Linked DNA regions of Homo sapiens: regions 2, 3, 4, 5, 6 and 7 are each linked to region 1. Evidence: promoter capture Hi-C in 16 types of primary human blood cells and fetal thymus (Javierre and others, 2016). All regions are on one chromosome and are shown on one strand. Each heading gives the region's core, a stretch centred on a gene start or on the middle of the fragment in contact. The rest is flanking DNA. Distances are from core to core; before and after follow the strand shown.

What was found. The method cuts DNA at HindIII sites, captures the fragments that hold promoters and counts their contacts. A CHiCAGO score of 5 or more calls a contact.
Region 2: a fragment that was not itself captured here is called in contact with the fragment with the promoter of ZBTB2 in region 1 in 5 of 17 cell types (fetal thymus, naive CD8 T cells, total CD8 T cells and 2 more); the score reaches 12.1 in fetal thymus.
Region 3: the fragment with the promoter of GINM1 here is called in contact with the fragment with the promoter of ZBTB2 in region 1 in 3 of 17 cell types (neutrophils, fetal thymus and naive CD4 T cells); the score reaches 8.1 in neutrophils.
Region 4: a contact is called between a fragment that was not itself captured here and the fragment with the promoter of ZBTB2 in region 1, in 1 of 17 cell types (fetal thymus). The highest score is 6.1, in fetal thymus.
Region 5: a contact is called between a fragment that was not itself captured here and the fragment with the promoter of ZBTB2 in region 1, in 2 of 17 cell types (fetal thymus and non-activated CD4 T cells). The highest score is 8.4, in fetal thymus.
Region 6: a fragment that was not itself captured here is called in contact with the fragment with the promoter of ZBTB2 in region 1 in 1 of 17 cell types (fetal thymus); the score reaches 5.5 in fetal thymus.
Region 7: a fragment that was not itself captured here is called in contact with the fragment with the promoter of ZBTB2 in region 1 in 1 of 17 cell types (fetal thymus); the score reaches 6.8 in fetal thymus.

What each region holds. Positions count from the first base shown.
Region 1 is chr6:151,390,029-151,393,214 of GRCh38, forward strand. ZBTB2 (zinc finger and BTB domain containing 2) reads right to left here and starts at 1,531. Exons shown (of 3, transcript NM_020861.3): 1 at 1,392-1,531. LOC124901232 (translation initiation factor IF-2-like) reads left to right here. Exons shown (of 3, transcript XM_047419613.1): 2 at 1-444; 3 at 677-3,186. The coding sequence ends at 1,576. RefSeq lists silencers at 93-1,022, 1,103-1,492, 1,503-1,562 and an enhancer at 1,544-2,416. The HindIII fragment of the contact is 3,903 bases long and covers 1-2,751 here.
Region 2 is chr6:149,541,920-149,545,105 of GRCh38, forward strand. The region is part of intron 1 of PPIL4 (peptidylprolyl isomerase like 4); the gene reads right to left. Among named protein-coding and RNA genes, the nearest start is that of PPIL4, 2.5 kb to the right of the region's middle. The HindIII fragment of the contact is 1,724 bases long and covers 637-2,360 here.
Region 3 is chr6:149,564,439-149,567,624 of GRCh38, forward strand. It overlaps GINM1 (glycosylated integral membrane protein 1), which reads left to right and starts at 1,937. Exons shown (of 8, transcript NM_138785.5): 1 at 1,937-2,096. The coding sequence starts at 1,977. RefSeq lists enhancers at 1,104-1,233, 2,484-2,533 and a silencer at 1,664-2,213. The HindIII fragment of the contact is 6,228 bases long and covers 1-3,186 here.
Region 4 is chr6:149,708,611-149,711,796 of GRCh38, forward strand. All of the region lies in intron 1 of LATS1 (large tumor suppressor kinase 1), which reads right to left. Among named protein-coding and RNA genes, the nearest start is that of LATS1, 7.9 kb to the right of the region's middle. The HindIII fragment of the contact is 9,596 bases long and covers 1-3,186 here.
Region 5 is chr6:149,755,001-149,758,186 of GRCh38, forward strand. The region is part of intron 1 of PCMT1 (protein-L-isoaspartate (D-aspartate) O-methyltransferase); the gene reads left to right. Among named protein-coding and RNA genes, the nearest start is that of PCMT1, 6.9 kb to the left of the region's middle. The HindIII fragment of the contact is 5,765 bases long and covers 1-3,186 here.
Region 6 is chr6:150,006,694-150,009,879 of GRCh38, forward strand. No RefSeq gene overlaps it. Among named protein-coding and RNA genes, the nearest start is that of RAET1L, 17 kb to the right of the region's middle. RefSeq lists an enhancer at 1-358. The HindIII fragment of the contact is 6,353 bases long and covers 1-3,186 here.
Region 7 is chr6:150,078,984-150,082,169 of GRCh38, forward strand. No RefSeq gene overlaps it. Among named protein-coding and RNA genes, the nearest start is that of ULBP3, 11 kb to the left of the region's middle. The HindIII fragment of the contact is 804 bases long and covers 1,327-2,130 here.

The DNA.
Region 1 (3,186 bases), core at 281-2,780:
AGGGCCGCGCGGGTCCCACGCCCCAAGGCTAAGCAGCCGAAAGCACAGCGCGCTCGGGGCCAAACCGGGCTGTATCGCAGGCGCAGATGGCGCGTCGGGCGGAAGCTGGAGGCCGCCGGCTCAACACGCTCCGTACCCGGGACTGGGGCCCGGCCTGCAGCCTCAGCGAGCAGGCGACAAGGGCGGCGCCACAGAGGCCGACGCGTCCCCCGCCCGCCTGAGCGCGCCGCAACAGCCACCTCGTCCCACCCGCCCCGGGGCGGGGCCGGGGGCGCGGCGCCGGGGCCCTCTGGCCCCCTCCGGTCTCGCCGGCCCCGCCCCCTCCCTGTCCCCGTCCCCGAGGGGCTGAGGGGGAGGGAGGGGCGACGCACTCCGGCCGCGTTGCACGCTCGCCGCTTCCCTCAGTCCCGCGTGCGCGCGCGCGCTCGCCCCAAGTCCCGCGGAGTTTAACACAATGCCGACGCCTACGCCGTGCGCAACGCCCCGGCCGGCGCAACAGCCCCGGCGCCGGGGGCGGGGGTGGCCCAGACAGGGAGAGAGGGAGAGGGATGAGCGCGCGCGAGAGCCGGAGACAGCGCGAGACCCGAGGAGGCCGGAAGCGCGCGTGCGCGCCCCCGCCCGCGAGCGGGAGGCGGAGCCGCAGCAGTAGCGGCAGCAGCTGTAGGAGCCGCTGCAGCTGGGAGAAGCGCCAGAGAGGCCGGGCCTGCTCCGGTCGGACCGGATCCCTCCCCTCCCCCTCCCTCCTCCCTCCCCTCCCCCAAACCCACTTCCGCAGCTCGCGGCCTTGCCGCCGAAGCAGCAGCGGCGGCAGCAGCAGGAGGCGGCGGCGAGGCGTCGGAAGGATTACGCACCTGACGGGCCCGCCTCTGAGGGCTCCAGCGCGGGACGCTCACCGGCCGCCGCCGCCCAGGGCGCACTTCGCGGTGGCGGCGGGAAGGGAGGGACCGGCCACGGGGAACCGAACGCGAATCGCCCCCCTCCCCTTCCTCCCTCCCACCCTCCCTCCGATCCGCCGCCCGCCCTCTCGGCTTCCGTCCCCTCCCCCTCCCACAAAACCCCGGATGGAGGCGCCGCCGACTCGCCGCCGCCTGGCTCCGGGGGATGGTTTTGTCAAGCGGCCAGAGCCCCGGCGCCAGGCGCAGCCGCCGCCGCCCCCGCGAGGCGCCCCTGCCCTCGCTTCCCAGAACCGGGTCCCCGAGTGGCCCGGGCCTTCCGCCTGCCTGCACCCGTAGCCCTGGTACGAGGGTCATTCGTCGTCTTTGTTGCCACCGCCTCTGCCGGAACCGTTTGCGAGCTCCGGTGGCCCCCGCCCCCCCACCGCCTTCCCGGACCCTGGGCTGGGGGTGGCACGTGGGCACCGGCCCCGGGAGGCGGAGGCGGTGCGCGCTTACCTGTCGCCGGTGCTGCTGCGGCGGGGGGTGTGGAGGAGGCGCCTCTGGGCAGCCTCGGCCGTGCTGTCCTCCCCGCCGCCGCCGCCTCTGCCTCTCGCTGCTGCTGCTGCTGCTGCCGCCGCGGTCGGTGTCTCCGGCGCGGCGGCGGCGGCGGCGGCGGGGCTTTTCCTGTCCGGTTACGTTAAGGTCACATGACCGAGAGAGCGGAGAGACTAGTGCAAAGAGGCTGCGAGCGGCTCCCGCCGGGGGGGAGAGGCGGCGAGAGAGCAGTGGCGGCAAGAGCCCCCTCCGCCCCCCCCCCAGCCGCTCCCCTCCCCCCGCCCGCCTCCGCCTCCTGCTGCTCTGCCGCCGCCGCCGCCGCCTGCAGCACTCCACTGCCGCTCCCACCCAGGCTCCGCGCTCTGCTCCAGCCAAACTTCTGCAGACCATGTGCAGCCGAGGCGAGGAAACTTCTCTCCACCTATTGGGGCTGGAGGCCTGAGTCACAAGCCCCTTGTTTACATAAAGTGTTTAGGTAGCACAAGTCCTTGAGATGCTCGGGGTAGAGATGGAGAGCCACTGCTCGTATCCTTCTGCCGGCTTCTGCTTGAGATCTCTTGGCCTTTACCCTTGTCCCTTGACTTTTCGTGTTTGTTTTAATCTTTAAGACTTGAAATGGAGTGGCCTTTAGAACCGGGGAGATACTGTAAACCAGCAGTATCTTTGTGTCACCAATGGTAACTGAAAGTCATGCTGAAGTACAGATTCCTGTAGCGTGCACAGAGGCAGAGGTGCTTCCTTTACCTTGCAGATGAGTTGAGCGGCGTAAGATGTTTCTGTTAGGGTTGAATTTCATGGTTATTTCAGCAACGATTTTCGTTTTTGAAGTTTTGGCCCCCCCAAAAATGAAAGTCTGCAACGCATGTTTGTTAAGAGAACAGTTTATTCTCCTGTTAGGTTTTGGTCTTTGAGGTATGGATTCCAGAGTTGGCTATTCTGTTAGATTTAGAGGTGTGGAAAATCTTTTAACGGGGAGATCCTGAAACACGGAAACATGGCAGGGAAGTTAGAATTTCCTGATGGTCATTTTTAACATTTTAAAGTTTACTTTTTGGTTGTTGCCATTTTTCTAGAATCCGTGTCTTTTTTGGGGAAATACAGTCCTTTGAGGACTAGAATTTAATGATTTCTTTACACATCTAGGATTTTTTGAGATTTAGAAAGGATATGGCTTTATTCCTAAGGAAGTGGAGGCAGCAGTTTCTAGGATACTCTGGTTTCAAGGCATGCTAACTTGGTTGTGATGTCTAACCCATTTTGGTTTACACAGTCTGACCACTAGCACAATGCCTGGCACATAGTTTACAAATCATTTAAGGCAAGCTTACCATCTTAAGACAATTTAATACATAGAAGTGTCCCTCCTAAAAATCTGAGTTTGATTTAGAAATCCAGTTATACCTGCAGGTACTGATGACTAATTCCTTCTTTGAAGACAAAATAAGCAGCTGTGTAGCTTCAGTGGCTCTCAAATGGATAATAGATTCAGTGTATACTCGCTTTGAACTTTCCTGTTTTTTGATCAGCTAGATAAATGACTTTAGTGGGTAAATGTCTGCCTCCAAAACCAAATTCTGACCCTGATCTAAGTATTCTACTGCACCGCTGTCACTGGAATATCAAAGTTGGCCTTCAGACTGGTGCCTGGTTCCTTGGATTGGCTTGAGTATTGAGGTCTGTCTCATCTTACTAGGGAACTAAAATGATGTTGATTGTTTTGTAGAGAATTGTAATTAGAGATCTGTAGGTTCTTAAT
Region 2 (3,186 bases), core at 249-2,748, 1.8 Mb before region 1:
AGGAGAATCACTTGAACCCAGGAGGTGGAGGTTGCAGTGAACCAAGATCGCACCACTGCACTCCAGTCTGGGCAATAGAGCAAGACTCTATCTCAAAATAAAATAAAATAAAATAAAATAAAAGGGCAATAAGTCTAGAAAAAAAACATTTTAAATTACCTTTTTTTTTCCTTTAATAGGAGTTTTGGGGCATCTGGGCTAATACAGAAAACTGACACTTATAAGCAATCATTTACTGATGGATTGATTTTATTACGAGAAAAAAGAACACTTAAAGAGCATATTGTAGTAGAAAAGGATCTAGCAGAATATATAAAAATGGATACGGATTATATCAATTAGGAAAAAGTCAAACACCCGGGGTCATTTTTTAAATAATAGTTAAACAGCCCTTTATAAAAATCCATACACTTATGAACAACCTTTCTCATACAAGTTAATCTGCTTATCCAATAAACATTTACTGAGTACCTTCTAGATGCCTGACACTGCCATCACAAATGCCATTAAACTGTGGTCCCTGCTCCCAAAAAGTTCACAGTCTAGTCGTGGAAAGACACATTAACAAGCTCTTAAGGCACTAAGTTAGAAACCAAACAGACAGTAAGATATATGAGGCAATCCCTGCCCTCAAAAAGCTTACATTAAATTAGGGTCCTTACATCTGAACACAAGTAGTTACATACTGGGCATATCTAATTAATAACATGTGTGCCACTTATTTAAAATGGTAAAAAAAGTAGTTTTAAAAATTCCACAAGAGTTCAAAAGATTGTTTCTGGCTAGGGAAATTAGAAAACCTCAGGGAAGGTTAAGGCAAGCATTAAAAGAACTGGACTAGCAGAGAGTGAAGGGTGAGCATTTTAGGTCTGGAAGACTATGAAAAGGCCTGGAAGTGGAAATTTAAATGTTTTAGGGGAGGTCCAAAACACCAAAGTTCTGTAATAGTCTGGTATTACACAGTAATAGAGCATGAAAAGACTGGAGAGATAAGATGGGGCTGAGCTGTTGAAGAGTGCTGAATATCAGTCTTGCAGTTGTTTTTCTTGAATATATTTCTGGGCTTCATGTTTAACAGATAGGGGTGGTCCTTTTACTAGAAACAAAAATAATGAATTTAGGCAATGATCATCAATGGCTGCCAAAATCTTTAGGTCTTTCATCAAAATCCGATGGGAACAATTTATAAGCGCAACAAGGCCTTAACCCACTGACCAATTTTAACATCACAGAGCCAACCAGACATCAAGTGCCTCCTGAATGTGATGCAGCTGAAAGTACACACTATCTTATATGAAATATTCTTGCCAAAAACATTAAACTGGAACCTAATCAAGGCTCTGAAGCTAAAGAACAATTTATAGGAAACAGGGGACACAAAAATATGTTAACGCACCCAGTAAATAATCAGTCGAATCCAAACAAGAGAAATTCTACAAGACAAAGCACCCAGGTTGTTTCTCAAAATTTTTTCAAGGAAAAAAGGGGGAGAACCAATAGATTAAAACATATATGAGACATTTTAACCAATATATGGACTTTGGGTCCTAATTTAAATCACCATATTTTTTAGAAGTTTATGAGATAATAAGAAAGTTTAAATGATACTAAAAATTATTGCTAGTTTTTTCAAAGTGTGATAAGATCTGTGGTTCTGTTTTTTTATTCTTTTTTACAACTTTTTCTCTTTCCTTTAGTATTTTTCCCTTTTCCCTGTCAAGTTTTTTTTCTTTTTTAACCTGTCACTTATGTGGTACTTAAGCTCATAGTTCCATTTTTTCTTGTTTTTTTTAAAGAGACGTTATATTTTAGAAATACATACTGAAGTAATTACAGATTAAATAGATGCACTGGAGGTGGGGGTATTATAAATGAAGCAAGATTGGCTATGTGTTCACAGCTGTTAAACAAAGCTGGTCATGTGGACATGAGAGTTCATTTACATGATTCTCTCTACATCTGTGTTTTAAATTTTCTATAATAAAAAGTTAAAAAAGAAAAGGAAGAAAGAATGGAAGGTAGGTAAGTCTGGATATGTTGATCATAGATTGATAAGTGAGTATAAATATAGCAGGTACACATGTAAGCACATCTCCAGTCATATGCTTACAAATATGTACAGGGGGTGGACTTATTGTTATGGGCTTATCTTTGCAGACCCACTGCTTGTTAATTGGGTGGGGTAGCTCTACACCCCTTTATTTCCTCATAACTCTGGGAAAAGAGGCCCATTTATTTTGCCAGGTGCTACTCTACATGGGCAGAGCGTCAAAGGAACTCAAAGAAAAGCAAAATCAAGAGATAAAAAACAAAATTCCCTATGATATTCTTTGAAACACTCGATCCAGCCACTCGATCCAAGCTTACCCCAGTATTATGAGGCAACCAATTATTTTGTTTATGCCAGTTTGAGTTGGGTTTCTATCACTTGAACAAAGGGTCCTAACTAATACAACACATTTATATCCATTAGTCATCATAATGAACCTCTAGTGTGTGCCCTAAAAGTAGCAGACATTGTACTGGGTACTCAGGATATAGAGATGATAATTATGGTATAGTTCCTGCTCTCATTGGAGTTTACATTCTTGAGCGAGGGCACGCTTGTAAACAACACCAGGATAATAGGTAAATGTTAAAATAAAATGTGTCATGTGGTTTATAAAAGACCTAAGACACAGCAGAGGAACCCTCAGGTAACTCTGCTTAGAAAGGAGGGAGAGCTTCAAAGAAGAGATGATGCTTGATCTGAGATTTAGATAATAAGTAGTAAGTTTGCCAGAAGGACAATAGTGGAGAAGAATATTGTTTAGAAGAAACAGCAAAAGAATGGTAACAATGGTACGGGAGAGTTTGTAGTGTTTTCGCCAGGTGGAGAGGAGGGAGGAATAGCTGCGTGCGAGGGAAAGCGGAGCACGGCAGGAGGTAGTTATTGTACAATATTGCAACTTATTTCACCTTCTTTGATAGGCTCTGCATTCCATGTGGGTAGGACCCTGTTTGTAACTAATCTCTCCTGGTCTCAGTTTCTTCCTGACTCTGATACATTCTCCACACCGCTGCCTATTATCTTCTCAAAACAAGTATGCCATGCCTCAATCCTGCTTTTAAAGTCTTCAAGGACTCTGATCATCAGTAGGGCACACAAGACTATTCACGACTGACCTAGGCGTATCTGACCACACT
Region 3 (3,186 bases), core at 687-3,186, 1.8 Mb before region 1:
TTAAATAATACTGTCAACCACTTAGACATTATTTGTCCAACAAACCCCCACTGAGGGCTTACTCTAGCAAGCTGTTTGCTTTAAGGTTTGGCCACCCTCTTCCTGGAGCTCACATCTATCTGACGAGACAGATAAACAATAAAGAATAATGGACAGTTAGACCATGGGAAAGGCTTTGTAAGAAAACAGAGAGCCTCAACTTTACCTATTATCTTTTCATATAGACGTACTTTGTAACCTTATATTACTAATTCAAATTATACAGATCCACATGTCATGTTTTCTGACTTCCAGATTCTTTTTTTTTTTTTTGGAGACGGAGTCTCGCTCCACCGCGCAGGCTGGAGTGCAATGGCGCGATCTTGGCTCACTGCAACCTTCGCCTCCTGGGTTCAAGCGATTCTCCTGCCTCAGCCTCCCTAGTAGCTGGAATTACAGGTGCGTGCCAGTATGCCTGGATAATTTTTGTATTTTTAGTAGAGATGGGGTTTCACCATGTTGGCCAGGCTATTCTCGAACTCCTGACCTCAAGTGATCCACCCGCCTCGGCCTCCTAAAGTGTTGGGATTACAGGCGTGAGCCACTGCACCCGGCTTCTAGATTCCTTTTTTTTTTTTTTTTTTTAATAGACTCAGGCGATCCTCCTGCCTGCGTTTGCTGCATAGCTGGGAGTACAGGCACAAATGACCACGCCCATCTCCAAATTCATTTTTAATTCCAGCAGTAGGAAAAAAAGGAAAAGGCCAAGTTTGCAGATGGAACCCAGAAGTGTGTGGGGCTTCGCTGTGAAATCACTTGTAGCTTAACAATGGCGTGGGGAATCTCAGAGTAAGCCCGGAGTTAGTTGAAAGGAGTCTTTAGCCAAAACGTTTATAATTTATTCTGGGGCGGGGCCGGGGGAGGGGGCGGTGGCGGTCAGCAGGCCTGTGGGAGGAGGGTGTTCAAAGGAGTAAAGGGGGCTCAAAGAGAGAAATAGATTCTTGTTTCCTTTTTCATGTCAAAAGTTTTATTTCATGTCAAAAGTTTTATTTCAAAGGAAGACTAAATATTACTCTTATTCTGCCTGAATGGCCAAGTTTCCAAGTTTTTCTCAATCAACATGCAATCCTGTTAATCTAAAATGCTTGAATTTCTTGCTACTCTGCTTTACAGGGTTCCGTAACTTTTTTTTTTTTTTAAATCTGCAAGGTGGAAGAAAAGTCTAACACTTTCACTTTAGAGTTACGATACTGACCAAAAAGGCACTGACAGCCCAGGTGCGCTGGCTTCCTTCCAGCTGAGCGCTGTCCCCGCGCCGCCTCCAGGGGTCGGCAGAATGCTGAACAGTAAGCATGGCGCATCCTCAACCTTGGCCCCACAATGAATCACCCGAGAAAATTAAAAAACCACCAGGGCCCGAGCCGCAGCCCAGGCTGGAAAGTGGGGTGTTCAGGAAGACCCCAGTACTTTTTAAAGCTGCCCGGGAGAGTCCCACGTGCAGCCAAGGGTGGGGAATTACCCACTTAATAAAAACTTCCCCTGTAAATGCGATGTTTCATTTTTAATGTATAACAGTTTTCTGAAATATTACCGTTGTTTTCATCGTATAGGTACATGTACATGTGCACACACAGACACATGCATGTGTGTAAATACTAATTTTAAAAATAATGGTTACGAGGACATTTACATCGCTCCAGTTGGAGTCCTGTCCAATCCTGAGGGCGGGTCTAATGAGGGGCCGTACCTTCCAAGATTTCACTCCGCCCCTCGACGCCGCGCGGCGCTGCGCGTGCGCAAACGCCTTTCCCTGGCGAGCCGGATCTCGGAGCGTCCCCGCGCCTCTCCGCGGCCGCCCGGGGAGGGGAGGGCCCGTCCCGCCCCTCCCCGTCTCTCCCCGCCCCTCCCCGTCCCTCCCGCCGAAGCTCCGTCCCGCCCGCGGGCCGGCTCCGCCCTCACCTCCCGGCCGCGGCTGCCCTCTGCCCGGGTTGTCCAAGATGGAGGGCGCTCCACCGGGGTCGCTCGCCCTCCGGCTCCTGCTGTTCGTGGCGCTACCCGCCTCCGGCTGGCTGACGACGGGCGCCCCCGAGCCGCCGCCGCTGTCCGGAGCCCCACAGGTAGGGCAGGGCGGGCCTGGCTGGCCGCTTTACGACTCCGACTCTCCGGGAGGCCCGGGCTGTCCACAGTGACGCTTCCCACATCCCACCGGCGGGCAGGGGCGGGGGTCCGGGCCCCCGAAGGAGGTGTGGGGAGAAGCACCCCAGGAAATGGGGGCGGCGTGGGAGGCCGAGGTAAGAGGAAAGGGACCCACTGGGGCTGCGTCGCTGTGAGTGAGCCTCGAGCCACTCCACACCGACTCTCCGGCGGCCCAAGCCGGCGCGCGACCTGACGGGGCTTTGCCGTCGAAGCGCGCGGTTGCCGGTGATCAGGCCTTCGTAATGGCGCCTTCCCGGGGTAGAGCCAGCGCTTGGGCAAGGAATGTTTGTGTGCTCGGGAAGTGTGGAAGTTGCCCACTTCGCGCATTTCCAGGCCACTTGTGCCTGCTCGGCCTGCGATCGCGAGGGTCCGCCGTTCCGAGGCTGCGGGGCTCCGCCGGGCTCAGGTGGGCAGAGGGAGAGACCTGGCCCTCGCGCGACGTAATGTTTTTGTCGGATGTTGGAGGAGAAGTTCTCACGGCGGGGCGCGATCGGCGGTGTCCGCATCCCCTGGGGACTCAGCCCGGCCTCTGGGGGCGGGGCCCAGCAGTCCGGGTTGGAGAGTCCTGCAGGTGCTTCTGATGCCAGCTGAGGTGGGAGAATCGAGGCATCCTAACATTAAAACGTGGCTGATGCTCACCATTCCTGCCGTAGAGTCGTGCCTACCTAGGCCAGTATCAGCCTTTTTTCAGTAGAATGGTAGGGAAAAGTTTGAATATTTTAAAGAGCAAGTGTTCTGAGAATGACAAGAAACTATGTCGGTACACCTCTTCCTAGTCAAGACTTGAATATGAACACTCTAAATACAAAGGCGAAGGGCACGGTAAGTGTCACTTTGACCAACAAGGTGAAACCCCGTCTCTACTAAAAATAGAAAAATTAGCTGGGCGTGGTTGCAGGTGCCTGTAGTCCCAGCTACTCGGGAGGCGGAGACAGGAGAATTGCTTGAACCCGGGAGGCAGAGGTTGCAGTGAGCCGAGATCGTGCCACTGCATTCCAGCCTGGGTGAGGG
Region 4 (3,186 bases), core at 236-2,735, 1.7 Mb before region 1:
TCTCAATTCTGGACTGAGGCAGTTAAAAGTCACTTTGCTTCGGTTTTCCTGCTTTAATGACAATGTAGGTTACATTCTGAGATGGTGGCTTGACAATATGGAAGGAAGGTGGATCCCTAAGCCACTGGATGGAGAACCCTACTGACTCCCACTGAACTCTGAGCAAGAGAAACATTTCTGTTGTGTTAAGCCATTGATATTTGGGGATTTGTTACCACAAAACAGCCTAATAACATTGTGAAAATAGACAAAGACTGCCCAAATGGAAACAAACAAAGGCTATTTAATTAGATCTTACTATATAGGTAGGGAGTCAGCCACTGTCAACTTGTGCTTGGCAAAGATTCAAAGGCAAGCAGGGGAGTGGGAAATCTTTATACTAAAAAAAGGGGGAAGACATCAGGTATGCTCTGATTGTAGGTTGTTGGCATGGGAAACTGGAGGTGGGCTAACTGATGTAAACCAAAAATAAAATTCTAAGTCCTTCAACCATCTGAATGAACCCCTCCTCCCAGCCAAGAGCATTTGAAAGTTAACCTGAAAAACTAGTTCCAGCCATGATGGGAAGCGGAGTTTGGCCATACCTCATTATTCCCTCCTCCCTGTTGGAATTCAGGCACAGCTGACCAGCACTAACATTAAAACAAATCTTAAGACTGACAAAACAGACTCTCTGTAGCAATAAGATACCCAATTCCAGCCTGACTCTAGCATAGTATCACATGACAGATGGCAGGCCCTGAAAGAAATCCAAGTATTTGACCCCAAATTATGTTTCTTTGCCATATCTTCAAACAGTCCTGCAAAGCTGTCTCTTGTGCGGAAAATCTACATTCTGAAGTTAATTCCCTTCCTTTCTCAGGCCTTTTGCCTGATCCAGGAGAGAATCAACCCTGATAAGAAACATTTACAATGTATTATCTCTGAAGCCTGCCACCTGGAGGCTTCCTTTACATAATGGGAACTTTGGTCTCCACAACCCCTTACCTTGGCTCAGACATTCCTTCCTATTGATTCTATCTGCATAATGGGAACCCTGGTCTCCACAACCCCTTATCTTTTTTTTTTTTTTTTTTTTTTTTTTAGATGGAGTCTCACTCTGTTGCCCAGGTTGGAATGCAGTGGCTTGATCTTGGCTCACCACAATCTCCGCCTCCCGGTTTCAAGTGATTCTCCTGCCTCAGCCTCCTGAGTAGCTGGGATTACAGGCGTGCGCTACCATGCCTCGCTAATTTTTGTATTTTTAGTAGAGATGGGGTTTCACTATGTTGGCCAAGCTGGTCTTGAACTCCTGACCTCGTGATCCACCTGCCTCGGCCTCCCAAGGTGTTGGGATTACAGGCGTGAGCCACTGTGCCTGCCCACAACCCCTTATCTTAACCTAGATACTCCCTTCTATTGATTCTAGGTCTTTAGACAGTAACAACTCTTTCGACCAACTGCCAATCAGAAAATCTGTGAATCTACCTATGACCTGGAAGCCATCTGCTTCAAGGTGTCTTCCTTTCTGGACCTAACCAATGTACATCTTACATATACTGATTGATGTCTTATGTCTCCCTAAAATGTATAAAACCAAGCTGTAGTCTGATCACCTTGGGCACATGTTCTCAGGAGCTCCTGAGGGCTGTGTCATGGGGCAATAGCCATTCATATTTGGCTTAGAATAGATCTCTTAAAATATTTTACAGAGTTTGACTCTTCGTCGACACTGGAAGCGGGGTATCCTATGTGGTTGATTTGGGAAGCATATTTGGCTTTCTCTGAGTCGTCCCGAATTGGAAGAAGGCACAAAAATTAGGGAAGCTGGTAATTACTGACCAAGTCCTGACTGGGCCTATTGCTACATAGGTCATGGGTCAGAGTTCTAGTTTTATATATGATCTGGCCATTGTCCATCTGTATATTCAGTGTTTCATTATCCTAATACAGAAAACTGGTACCTGGAAGTGAGGTGCTGCTACAATAAAAACCTATGCAGTCCTGCCTTAGTGATACTGCCTTAGTGGTCAGATTAAGGGCTGAGAGGAAACAGATACCGGAGGCTGGAAAGATGGAGGATCATGTTTTATAGTGGCAAAATATCTGGTAACGCTGTTGCCTATAATAACTTTTCATACAACTACAAGGTCAGTGAACATACAAAGAGGCTACTGACCTTGTAGTGTTATAGGAGTTTGGTAAAGAGGATTTTGGAAGTGAGTATTGGCTGCTATTAGATATTTGGCAAGTATTATAAGTAAATGATGAGTTCAAGAAGGAAGTAGTAGATTTGAAAGCAAAAACAGAAGAGAATAGAAAAAGTTCAGAAATTTAAAGCCTTGAAGGATTGGAAAAGCAGCTTGTACCTAGACCCCTAGAGGCAGGATTAAAAGACTGAGCACAGATGCCCACTGAAACCCCTTAGCTAACTAGTGCTTCTGTGGTTAAGACCATATTAAAGACGTAGCCTTCCCATCAAACCTAATAGCCTCAAACAACCAAATGAGAGGAGGAGGAATAGACGCTCTTAAATCTTTGGATGAGTTTACCAATACATGTGAACTTCGACTGTGGTTACTGACACATAGAACTGAAGGAAACCAAACAGATCGGAAGAGGCTTACTAACTTTAAAGAAACTGTTTTGTTAAAAAAAAAAAAAATATCTTTTGGCCGGGCACGGTGCCTCACACCTGTAATTCCAGCACTTTGGGAGGCCGAGACAGGCGGATCACGAGGTCAGGAGTTTGAGACCAGCCTGGCCAATAAGGTGAAACCTCATCTCTACTAAAAAATACAAAAATTAGCTGGGCGTGGTGGCATGTGCCTGTAGTCCCAGCTACTCAGGAGGCTGAGGCAGAAGAATTGCTTGAACCTGGGAGGCGGAGGTTGCAGTGAGCGGAGATTGTGCCACTGCACTCTAGCCTGGGTGACAGGGTGAGACTCCATCTCAAAAAACAAAATGAAATTTTTTTTTCTTAAATCATCTCAAGTTCATACTAAAAAAATCTTCTTGTCTATTCAAAATTTAAAACCCTTGGGTCCCCGACTTCTATGAGCAAGAAGCTAGTTGAAAAAGATTTGTACGTTCCAAAGGGAAGGTACAACACACACTTCACAGGTGGTCAAGGATGATCATTAAAACAATGGATGGGAGAGTTCCTTCCAAATAAATCAGGGTCCAATCTCCCCTACCTCCAGGCCC
Region 5 (3,186 bases), core at 306-2,805, 1.6 Mb before region 1:
TATGTTACGTATAGGAAGAAAACAACATACAGATGGTCCCTGACTTAACAGTGGTTTGACTTACAAGTTTTTTACTTTACTGGATGTAAACCTGTCATAATAAACCTGTTATAAGTTAAGGAAGGCCGAGTGCGGTGGCTCACACCTGTAATCTCAGAACTTTGGGAGGCTGAGTCAGGAGGATCGCTTCAGTCCAGGAGTTTGAGACCAGCCTAGGCAACATAGTGAAAATAACATTTGTCATTTTCTCTACAAAAAATAAACAAAATTAGCTGGGCATTATGGTGCATGCCTGTAGTCTCAGCTACATGAGCTACGTGGGAGGCTGAGATGGGAGGATCACTTGAGCCCGAGAGGTTGAGGGTGCAGTAAGCCAAGATCATGCCACTGCACTCGAGCCTGGGTGATGGAGCAATACTTTGTCTCAAAAAAAAAAAAATGTTGAGTATCTGTATGGGCTGTATGGGCTTTGGTATTGTATGCGGTTTCAGGCATCTATTAAGGGTCTTGGACCGTATTTCCTGTGGGTAAAGGGAAACTACTGTACTGACCACTGAAAGCAATTGTTCTTTTATCTATTTTTATTTGTAAAAATAATTCAGTCCATTCCCCTAATGATCAATTGTTTCTACTTATGTTTCTTTTGCATTCTTGATTTTGTCATTTTACATATATAATGTTTATGGAATTTGTCATTTAGTCAGCTGATATTTTAGTGCTTTCTATATGACAGGCACTGGGGATACAGCAGTGAACAAAACAAACATCCACTCCCTCTTGTAGCTTCTAATGGGAGCAGCCAAGTATAGTATGTCACATGATAAGTGACAAAGTAGGGAGGGAGGACAGAGTGTGTGGGGCAGTAGGTTTATAGTTGTAGAGAAGGCCTCAGTAAGGTATCATTAGACCAAAGATTTGCTGGAGGAGTAGACACATATCACGCAGGTAGACTTGGGATAAGCATTCCAGGCAGAAGAAATAGCGAATTCCAGATTTGGATTTAGGATCTGGGAGAAAAGATTGGAGGCAAGGATCCAACACCAAGGTTTTAGGCCTTGGCAACTGGAATGATTTGCCATTTTCTAAATTGGAAATGGTGAGTGAGTGAGCAGCCACGTTTATTCTGTGAGGAGGGGACTGTGGGAGATCAGATTATTTTGAGGAATGCTTTTCTTATAAGACATTTAAGTCGAGATTTTTAGTAGGCATTTGAATATGCAAGAATTATGATTTGTAGTTTTTATATCCTAAAAGCATTTACTTTTGTAAATAATGAAATTATTTTCTATCTACAGCACCAGTTCTTAGCCACTAGTAGGTGTTGCTAGTAGAAAAGAGCATTTATTCTTTCCCTTTTTTTTTTTTTGAGACAGAGCCTCTTTCTGTCGCCCAAGCTGGAGTGCCGTGGCGTGATCTTAGCTCACTGCAACCTCTGTTTCCTGGGTTCAAGCGACTCCTCCATCTCAGCCTCCCGAGTAACTGGGACTACAGATGCACACCACCATGACTGGCTTTTTTTTTTTTTTTTTTTTTTTTTTTTTTTTGGTAGAGACGGGGTTTTGTCATGTTGCCCAGGCAGGTCTCAAACCCCTGGGCTCAAGTGATCCACCCGCCTCAGTCTCCAATATTGCTGGGATTATAGGCATGAGCCCCTGCGCCCAGCCAGCATTTACTCTTAATATTCCACTACTTTTGTATGCACATGGGAAAAATAGAACCAGCTGGTAAAATCCTAAGAAATTGGAGCCTCAAAGTCCAGAGGCCTTCTCATTTTGACTTATTTCAAACCAGTCTTATGGATAGGTACTAGTAAGTAAACTTGAAATCCTATGTATATATTTAAATTTAAATTATATAAAAATAAATAAAATTGGCCGGGCGTGGTGGGTCATGCCTGTAATCCTAGCACTTTGGGAGGCCGAGGTGGGTGGATCACCTGAGGTCAGGGGTACCAGACCAGCCTGGCCAACAATGCGAAAACCCGTCTCTACTAAAAATACAAAAATTAGCTGGGCATGGTGACAGGAGCCTATAATCCCAGCTACTCGGAGGCTGAAGCAGGAGAATCGCTTGAACCCGGGGAGTGGAGTTTGCAGTGACCTGAGATCGCTCCATTGTACCCCAGCCTGGGTGAAAAAGCGAAACTGCCTCAAAATAAATACATAAATAAATAAAATTAAAAATTTATATCTTTAGTCATATTAGCCACATTTCAAGAGCTCAGTAGCCACATGGAGCTAGTGCCCACCCTGTTGGACAGTGCAGATAGAGAATAGATCTGCCATCACTGAAGGTTCTTTTGGATTGCAGTAGATCTTGATGCTTGGCTGTATTACATTCTGGTTAATGAGATCTTAGGCTGTAGGAGGGGAAAGATTCGATTGTGCTGTTACAAAAATATTTTTATTAATATTATATTTAGCTTTGGTTAAATGCTTTCAGGGTGGCAGTGTAAAACTAAAGATTATTGGATAAGAGTGATGAAGATAACAAGAGGATCAGCATCTTACATGGTGCTTTGAAGGGATGGAGGTGGTTTGGTTTAGCAAAACCTTTAGGGAGCAGTGGTGTTTAAATTTGAAGAAATGTCATGTAGTAGAGGGTCAAACCAGGACAAATGGGAGGCAGATTTTGGCTCATTATAAGTAAGTATTCACAAAGCTATCCTAACAATCAAAAAGTTGGCTTTGAAAAAGTGTTTTCTGTCACCAAATATGTTGAAGCAAAGAATGGTTGACCATTTCACTGTAAGGGATATTGTAGAAGGGATTTTGTCATCAGATTTGAATGTACACTAGATCTCTAAGGACCCTTCCAAATCCAAGATTCTGTGATTTTTTTCCCCAGTGGTCCCTTGTACCTAGATTTTATGATTTAAAAAATATTTTATTTTATTTTTTGAGACAGAGTCTCACTCTGTTGCCTAAGCTGGAATGCAGTGGTGTGATCTTGGCTCACTGCAACCTCTGCCTCTCCGGTTTAAGTGATTCTCGTGTCTTAGCCTCCCGAGTAGCTGGGACTTACAGGCACGTGCCACCATACCCAGCTAATTTTTGTACTTTTAGTAGAGATGGGGTTTCACCATGTTGGCCAGGATGGCCTCAAACTCCTGACCTCAAGTGATCCACCCGACTTGGCCTCCCAAAGTGCTAGGATTACAGGAGTGAGCCACTGCGCCCAACCAAT
Region 6 (3,186 bases), core at 202-2,701, 1.4 Mb before region 1:
TGCCGGCATTTGGCCACCACACTCAGGCCAGCCCAGGATGGGCATAGAAGTGGCCCAAAAGTGACTGTAATGGCTGTGATTTAGAGATCATGCATTCAGACATGGAAGTCAGCTGATATTGCAGCTGAATATTCCTGTGCAAGGTTCTTCAGCTTTCTGGGCATGGATGTCCGCATGTGGAAAATGACAAATGCTATGAACACAGATGAAATGAGCAGATTCTACAAGGAACCCTGTCCTTGCACATGCTAAGGACCCAGGGCAGGTCTCCTATTTCAGTTGTGAGCCCTGCCGCCCTCCCTGAAGTCAGCAACTGCCAGGCCCACCCTGAGGAGAGCTGGAGCTCTGAACCCAGGCCGCGGCCTCTTCATGGCCCTGAGTGTGCTGTGAGGGGGTGGAAATGAAAGCGAGACCCGCAATCAGGACTCAGGCATGTTTTTCAGACCCACAGAGGATGATTTTTTTCTCCATCACCTGGTGAGCCTGACATGATGTAAGTGTGGTTGGAGGCTGAGTGAACCAGTGAATGAATGAGACAGTTGTGGGAGTGAGTGGGGCTGGGAGGAATAGCACAGGTGCAGAGGGGAGCTGGAGCGGAGGATGTAACCTCCAGGGGCCTGAAGGTGGCAGCATTGAGGTTGGTAAAATTTTTTTGCCCATTTTTCGTGTTTTAGTTTTTTTTTTTTAATTATACTTTAAGTTCTAGGGTACATGTGCACAACATGCAGGTTTATTACATATGTATACATGTGCCATGTTGGTGTGCTGCACCCATTAACTGGTCATTTACATTAGGTATATCTCCTAATGCTATCCCTTCCCCCTCCCCCTACCCCGCAACAGGCCCTGGTGTGTGATGTTCCCCTTCCTGTGTCCAAGTGTTGTCATTGTTCAATTCCCATCTATGAGTGAGAACATGCGGTGTTTGGTTTTTTGTCCTTGGGATAGTTTGCTGAGAATGATGGTTTCCAGCTTCATCCATGTCCCTACTTTTTTTTTTTTGAGGCGAAGTCTTGCTCTATTGCTCAAGCTGGAGTTCAGTGGGATGATCTCAGCTCAGTGCAACCTCCGGCTCCTGGATTCAAGTGATTCTCCTGCCTCAGCCTCCCAAGTAGCTGGGATTATAGGTGCCTGCCACTGTGCCTGGCTAATTTTTGCAATTTTAGTAGAGACAGGGTCTCACCATGTTGGCCAGGCTGGTCTCGATCTCCTGGCCTCAGGTGATCCACCTGCCTTGGCCTCTCAAAGTGCTGGGATTACAGGTGTGAGCCACTGCTCCCGGCCACAACTTGGAAATTTGTATGCCCACCTGGGTGTCCACAAAGATTTTCCAAGGAAGAGTAACTTTGGTTTTCAACCAGTCTGGGGTGCTTCATCAGGATAGAAACTTCTAGAAAACATAGTGTGATGATGGACAGCAAACTGCTGTCTTCATATGGTTTGACTGAGCCTAGGGCGCACCATGGCCAGGAAAATCTTGCCTTTGTTATTGTTGTTGTCATTATTATTATTATTATTATTTTATTATTTTTGACGGAATCTTGTACTGTTGCCCGGGCTGGTATGCAGTGGCACAATCTTCGTTCACTGCAACCTCCACCTCCTTGGTTCAAGTGATTCTCCTGCCTCAGCCTTCTCAGTAGCTAGGATTACAAACACCTACCACCACACCTGGCTAATTATTTTTATTTTTATTTTTAGTAGAGACGGGGTTTCACTATGTTGGCCAGGCTGGTCTCGAACTCCTGACCTCATGATCCGCCAGCCTTGGCCTCGGAAAGTGTTGGGATTAAAGCTGTGAGCCACTACGCCCTAGCCGAAAATCTTGTATTTAAGCAAAAAAGGAATGAGTCTGAAAGCAGGAATGGCATTGGGAAAAGATAAGGGGGCCAGGAGGAAAGTGAAGGAGAAAAGAAGGGTTAGGGTCTGAGAGGGAGCCAGGATCCAAGTATTTCCAGCCCCAGGGCCTGGAGTTGCAAGTGGGCGGGGCGGGGCCACTGGAGCTGTGACAGCATCGAGAGCCTCGGTGACTCACGTGGGGGCCCTCTGTTTCCTCCGGGTGTGTCACGCCCTGGGCTCCAGGTCCCCAGTGGCACAGGTGCTGGCACAGAGTTGGGTGTCTGCATCCAGCTTCTGTTCCTGGTGCCAGGATGGTCCAGGGTGGGTCGGGTCGGTGAGTTCCAGGCTGGACCCTAAACAGGGGTCATGGGGGTTCTTGGACTGCAGGGAGGCCAGGAGGAGGGGAGGCTTCTGTAAGCTCCTGAATGTCTCCCTGGAATGTAATGCAGCATTGCAGGCTGGAGCCAGCCTGGCATGGGGAGAGAGATGTGAGACTGATGAAGAGCGTGCAGCCTGATTTAAAGCCAAACCCTGAGTCCTTTCCAAGAACTATAAAGCATATTGTAGTCGCTAAAAGAAACAAATACAAAAAAACAAAGTAGCCTTTCTTGGCAGATACAGCACCTTTTATTTTTAATCTTTACATTTAACATTGCCTTTTTAAAATACTGTATATTATTCGATATTTTAAAATCCAACCTGGGAGTTTCGCTGATTTATGTGATGAGTTTAGTAATTCACGTTTATTGTTAATTATTACTGTTTAGGATTTAGCTATGCCATTTTTTTATTTTTTATTTTTTTTTTGATACTAGCTCTCTCTGTTGTCCAGGCTGGAGTGCAATGGCGTGGTCATAGCTCACTGCAGCCTCTAACTCCTGGGCTCAGGCCATCTTACTGCCTCAGCCTCCGAGTAGCCAGGACTACAAGCATGCGCCACCCACTGGGCTAATTTTCTGTATTTGTTTGTAGAGATGGGGTCTGCCTATATTGCAAAGGGTGGTCTTGAACTCCTGAGCTCAAGCGATCCTCCCACCTCGGCCTCCCAAAGTGCAGGGATTACAGGCGTGAGCCACTGTGCCTGGTGCACATGTATTTATTGTGTTTTTTAATGCTGGCATTTCCCCTCCGTAGCTGTGTTCCATTTAGTATACTGAGGGTTCTTTTCTGTTGGTTTAAAAGTTATACATTCTAGTTTTCTTCTCAGGGTGGCTGCCCTTAACCTATGACTCATACCAATATGTATTCACATTTATTGGTATTATTGGTTTTGTTTTATTCCTAATTTTAGAAGTCTCAGCATGTTTTCCTATCCCTTTCACGTGCCACCTCCAGCCCCATTTTCCT
Region 7 (3,186 bases), core at 479-2,978, 1.3 Mb before region 1:
ATAAAGTGTAGGATGGGCTGGCCATAGTGACTCATTCCTATAATCCCAGCACTTTGTGAGGCTGAGGTGGGGCAGATGGCTTGAAGCCAGATGTTTGAGACCAGTCTGGGCAACATGGTAAAACCTTGTCTCTAGTAAAAATACAAAAATTAGCTGGGCATGGTGTCATGCACCTGTAGTTTCAGCTACTCGGGAGACTGAGGTGGGAGGATCACCTGGGCCTGGGAGGTGGAGGCTGCTGTGTGCTGTGATCGTGCCACTGCACTCTAGCCTGGGTGACAGAATGAGACCCCATCTCAAAAAAAAAAAAAATAGGATGATATTACCTTCCTCCAGAAATGAATTTCATTTGCTTATATCAGGCACTTTGTAGCTATAAAATTGCTTGAATTTTGCTGCAGGAATTGAGATATTTTGGGACATTCAGAAGCCTTGAACCTGGACTGCCTTCTGTTTGAAGACTGGTTGATCTTCAGTCCACCTTTACTCCGAGGGTCCAGTCCCACTCTTGGCAGACTCTGGACTCCAACATCTGTTTGCATAGCCCCATGAAGCCATCCAAAGCCCATGTGAGCCACTAGGATCAAAAGGCTGCTGACTCTTTACCACATCACTACTGCCACAGTTAGGAAGCCACCAAGACAAGGAAGGAATCCATCCATAATCAGAAACCTACCACCCTCAGAAGCCACATCCGCTGTTGCCTGCTCCAGACCCCACTGTGCCTGCGAAGATTTTCAGCTTCAAAGTGGATGCCACGTGCCCTGCTCTCAGCACCTCAGAGCCAGCGACCAGAGCCCAAGACCTCAGCTAATGCTGCCCAGAAACCTGAATATCTCCCCTGCTGGGCTTGGCAGCAAGAGCAGCAGATGCCTGGTCCCTGCTGCAATTCCCCCACATTAGAGTGACTGAATCTGCACCACATCCTGACTCTGGTTGTAAAGGAGTCTGGGAAATGTAGTTTTTAGCTTTCCTGTTTCTGTAGTATAGGAAGGCACAGCAGAAAGCAGGTGAATGGATTTATCCTTCCCCCATCTGCCCTCCAAGTACATACAATTATAATACCATTTGGTTTAAGTTTCAAAATATGCAAAATGATACCATATCTTGCTTACTGATATATCATACACGTGTAAATTCATGTACATCCATACACCTGTATCCATGTATCTACATATGTGCATATCCATATCTAAGTATACAATTGCCACAAAGACAGTAAGATCAGTAGTGGTTTCAAGCACCGGCCCTGCAGTCAGACTGCCTGCTTCAAAACCTGTGTTTGTGTGACATGGAGCATGCACGTTTCCTCAGTCTTGATTGCAAAGCTTATGCTTCTCTGTGTGTAAAATAGGCATCATGATAGTACCCACCTCAATATATTGCTGTGGGCCTCAAATAAGCCAATGCCTGTAATAGACTTAGCATGGTGCTTGGCTCGTGGTAATAAATACTCAGTGAATTGTAGCTCTTTCCATCATAGATAGCAGAAGGCCTAGGTGGTCAACCCAACTCACTGTATCAGCCTGACAAGCCACTTAACTCCTCCGGGTGTTCATTTCTTGTCTTTCAGATGAGGCAGTTGCCCTAAATGAGGTGAGTTCCTAAGCCAATGTCTCCAGGTCCTTAGGGGAGAGTGAGGTTATTTCCTTGGCATTTTATGGTGGGCATTGGAGAATCTGGCTTCCAGAGTTTTTATTGTTATTTTTTTCTTACAAACTCTTGTCGTTCTAACTTATCTCTAGATGCTACCTGAGAGAAACAGAAGATAAAACTACCACCAGGACGCACCAGCAGCATGACACAGGGCCAGTGACTTCGGCTGCTAAAATCAAGACGTACACCAGAGGGCGCTGCAGTTAAAGAGCGAGGCAGAGGTGAGCGGGCTGCCCGGGTCCAGTCTCCTAGGGTCTAGAAAAGCTATGAGCACAGGCCTTGGGGAGGCGGTAGGAGGACCTGAGGCTTCCATGAAAACCAAGGGCAAACATACTGTTTCATTCAGGCTTCGGCTACCTGGATGTGTGTTCCTCGGGAGAGTGGTTGTGTGTGGTTTTCGCACACCGATATGGATTGTTCTTATAAAGCTGAAAGGGCCACGTTCATAAAACAAAAATAAATAACAAAAATAAAAGCTTTTATCTTTTGCTGTGAATTCTTTTTTTTTTTTTTTTCTGAGACGGAGTCTCGCTCTGTCACCCAGGCTGGAGTGCAGTGGCGGGATCCCGGCTCACTGCAAGCTCCGCCTCCCGGGTTCACACCATTCTCCTGCCTCAGCCTCCCGAGTAGCTGGGACTACAGGTGTCCGCCACCGCACCGGCTAATTTTTTTGTATTTTTAGTAGAGGTGGGGTTTCACCGTGTTAGCCAGGATGGTCTCGATCTCCCGACCTCGTGATCCGCCTGCCTCGGCCTTCCAAATTACAGGCATGAGCCACCGCGCCGGGCCATGAATTCTTAAATAATGAAAAGTGCCTGCAGACTTCTCCTACTCGGTGAATGAGAAAATGTCCATGTTGGCACCCCGTCAAGAGGATAGGTTTTCACAGTACTTAGGGGAGACAACCTCCAGAAATAAAATAACCTTGTGGCAGTTTACTCACAGTGACTTCAGTCCTCAGGGAAAATATGGGCTCAACAAACTGTACACTAGGACTATAATAAATATTGGAGATGGATAATAATTAAAATATAATTTCAGTTAGTTGAAATATTATTCCATCAAACCATTTTTAACTCCAATACAGATATACTTTTTGAAAAAAAAAATGGAAATACAGGCAACTTCATAGAAAAAAGGCCCTCATAAATGTTAAATTTAAATTTTTTTTTTTTTTTTTTTTTAGACAGGGTCTCTCTCTGTCACCCAGGCAATCTCAGCTCACTGCAAACTCTGCCTCCTGGGCTCATGCAATCCTCTTGCCTCAGCCCCCAACCCCCAACCCCCACCCCCTCGCGGCAGTAGCTGAAATTACAGGCATGTACCACCACACCCAGCTAATTTTTGTATTTTTAGTAGAGATAGCATTTCACCATGTTGGCCAGGCTGGTCTTGAACTTCTGGCCTCAAGCGATTTGTTCACCTCGGCCTCCCTAGAAAACATTTAAATTATCTCTTGATAGCTGTTTGTGTGAGAGGTGTTTATACTGTCGTGTGCTGTTTTTTCTGTTAACATAATTTCAAGAAAAC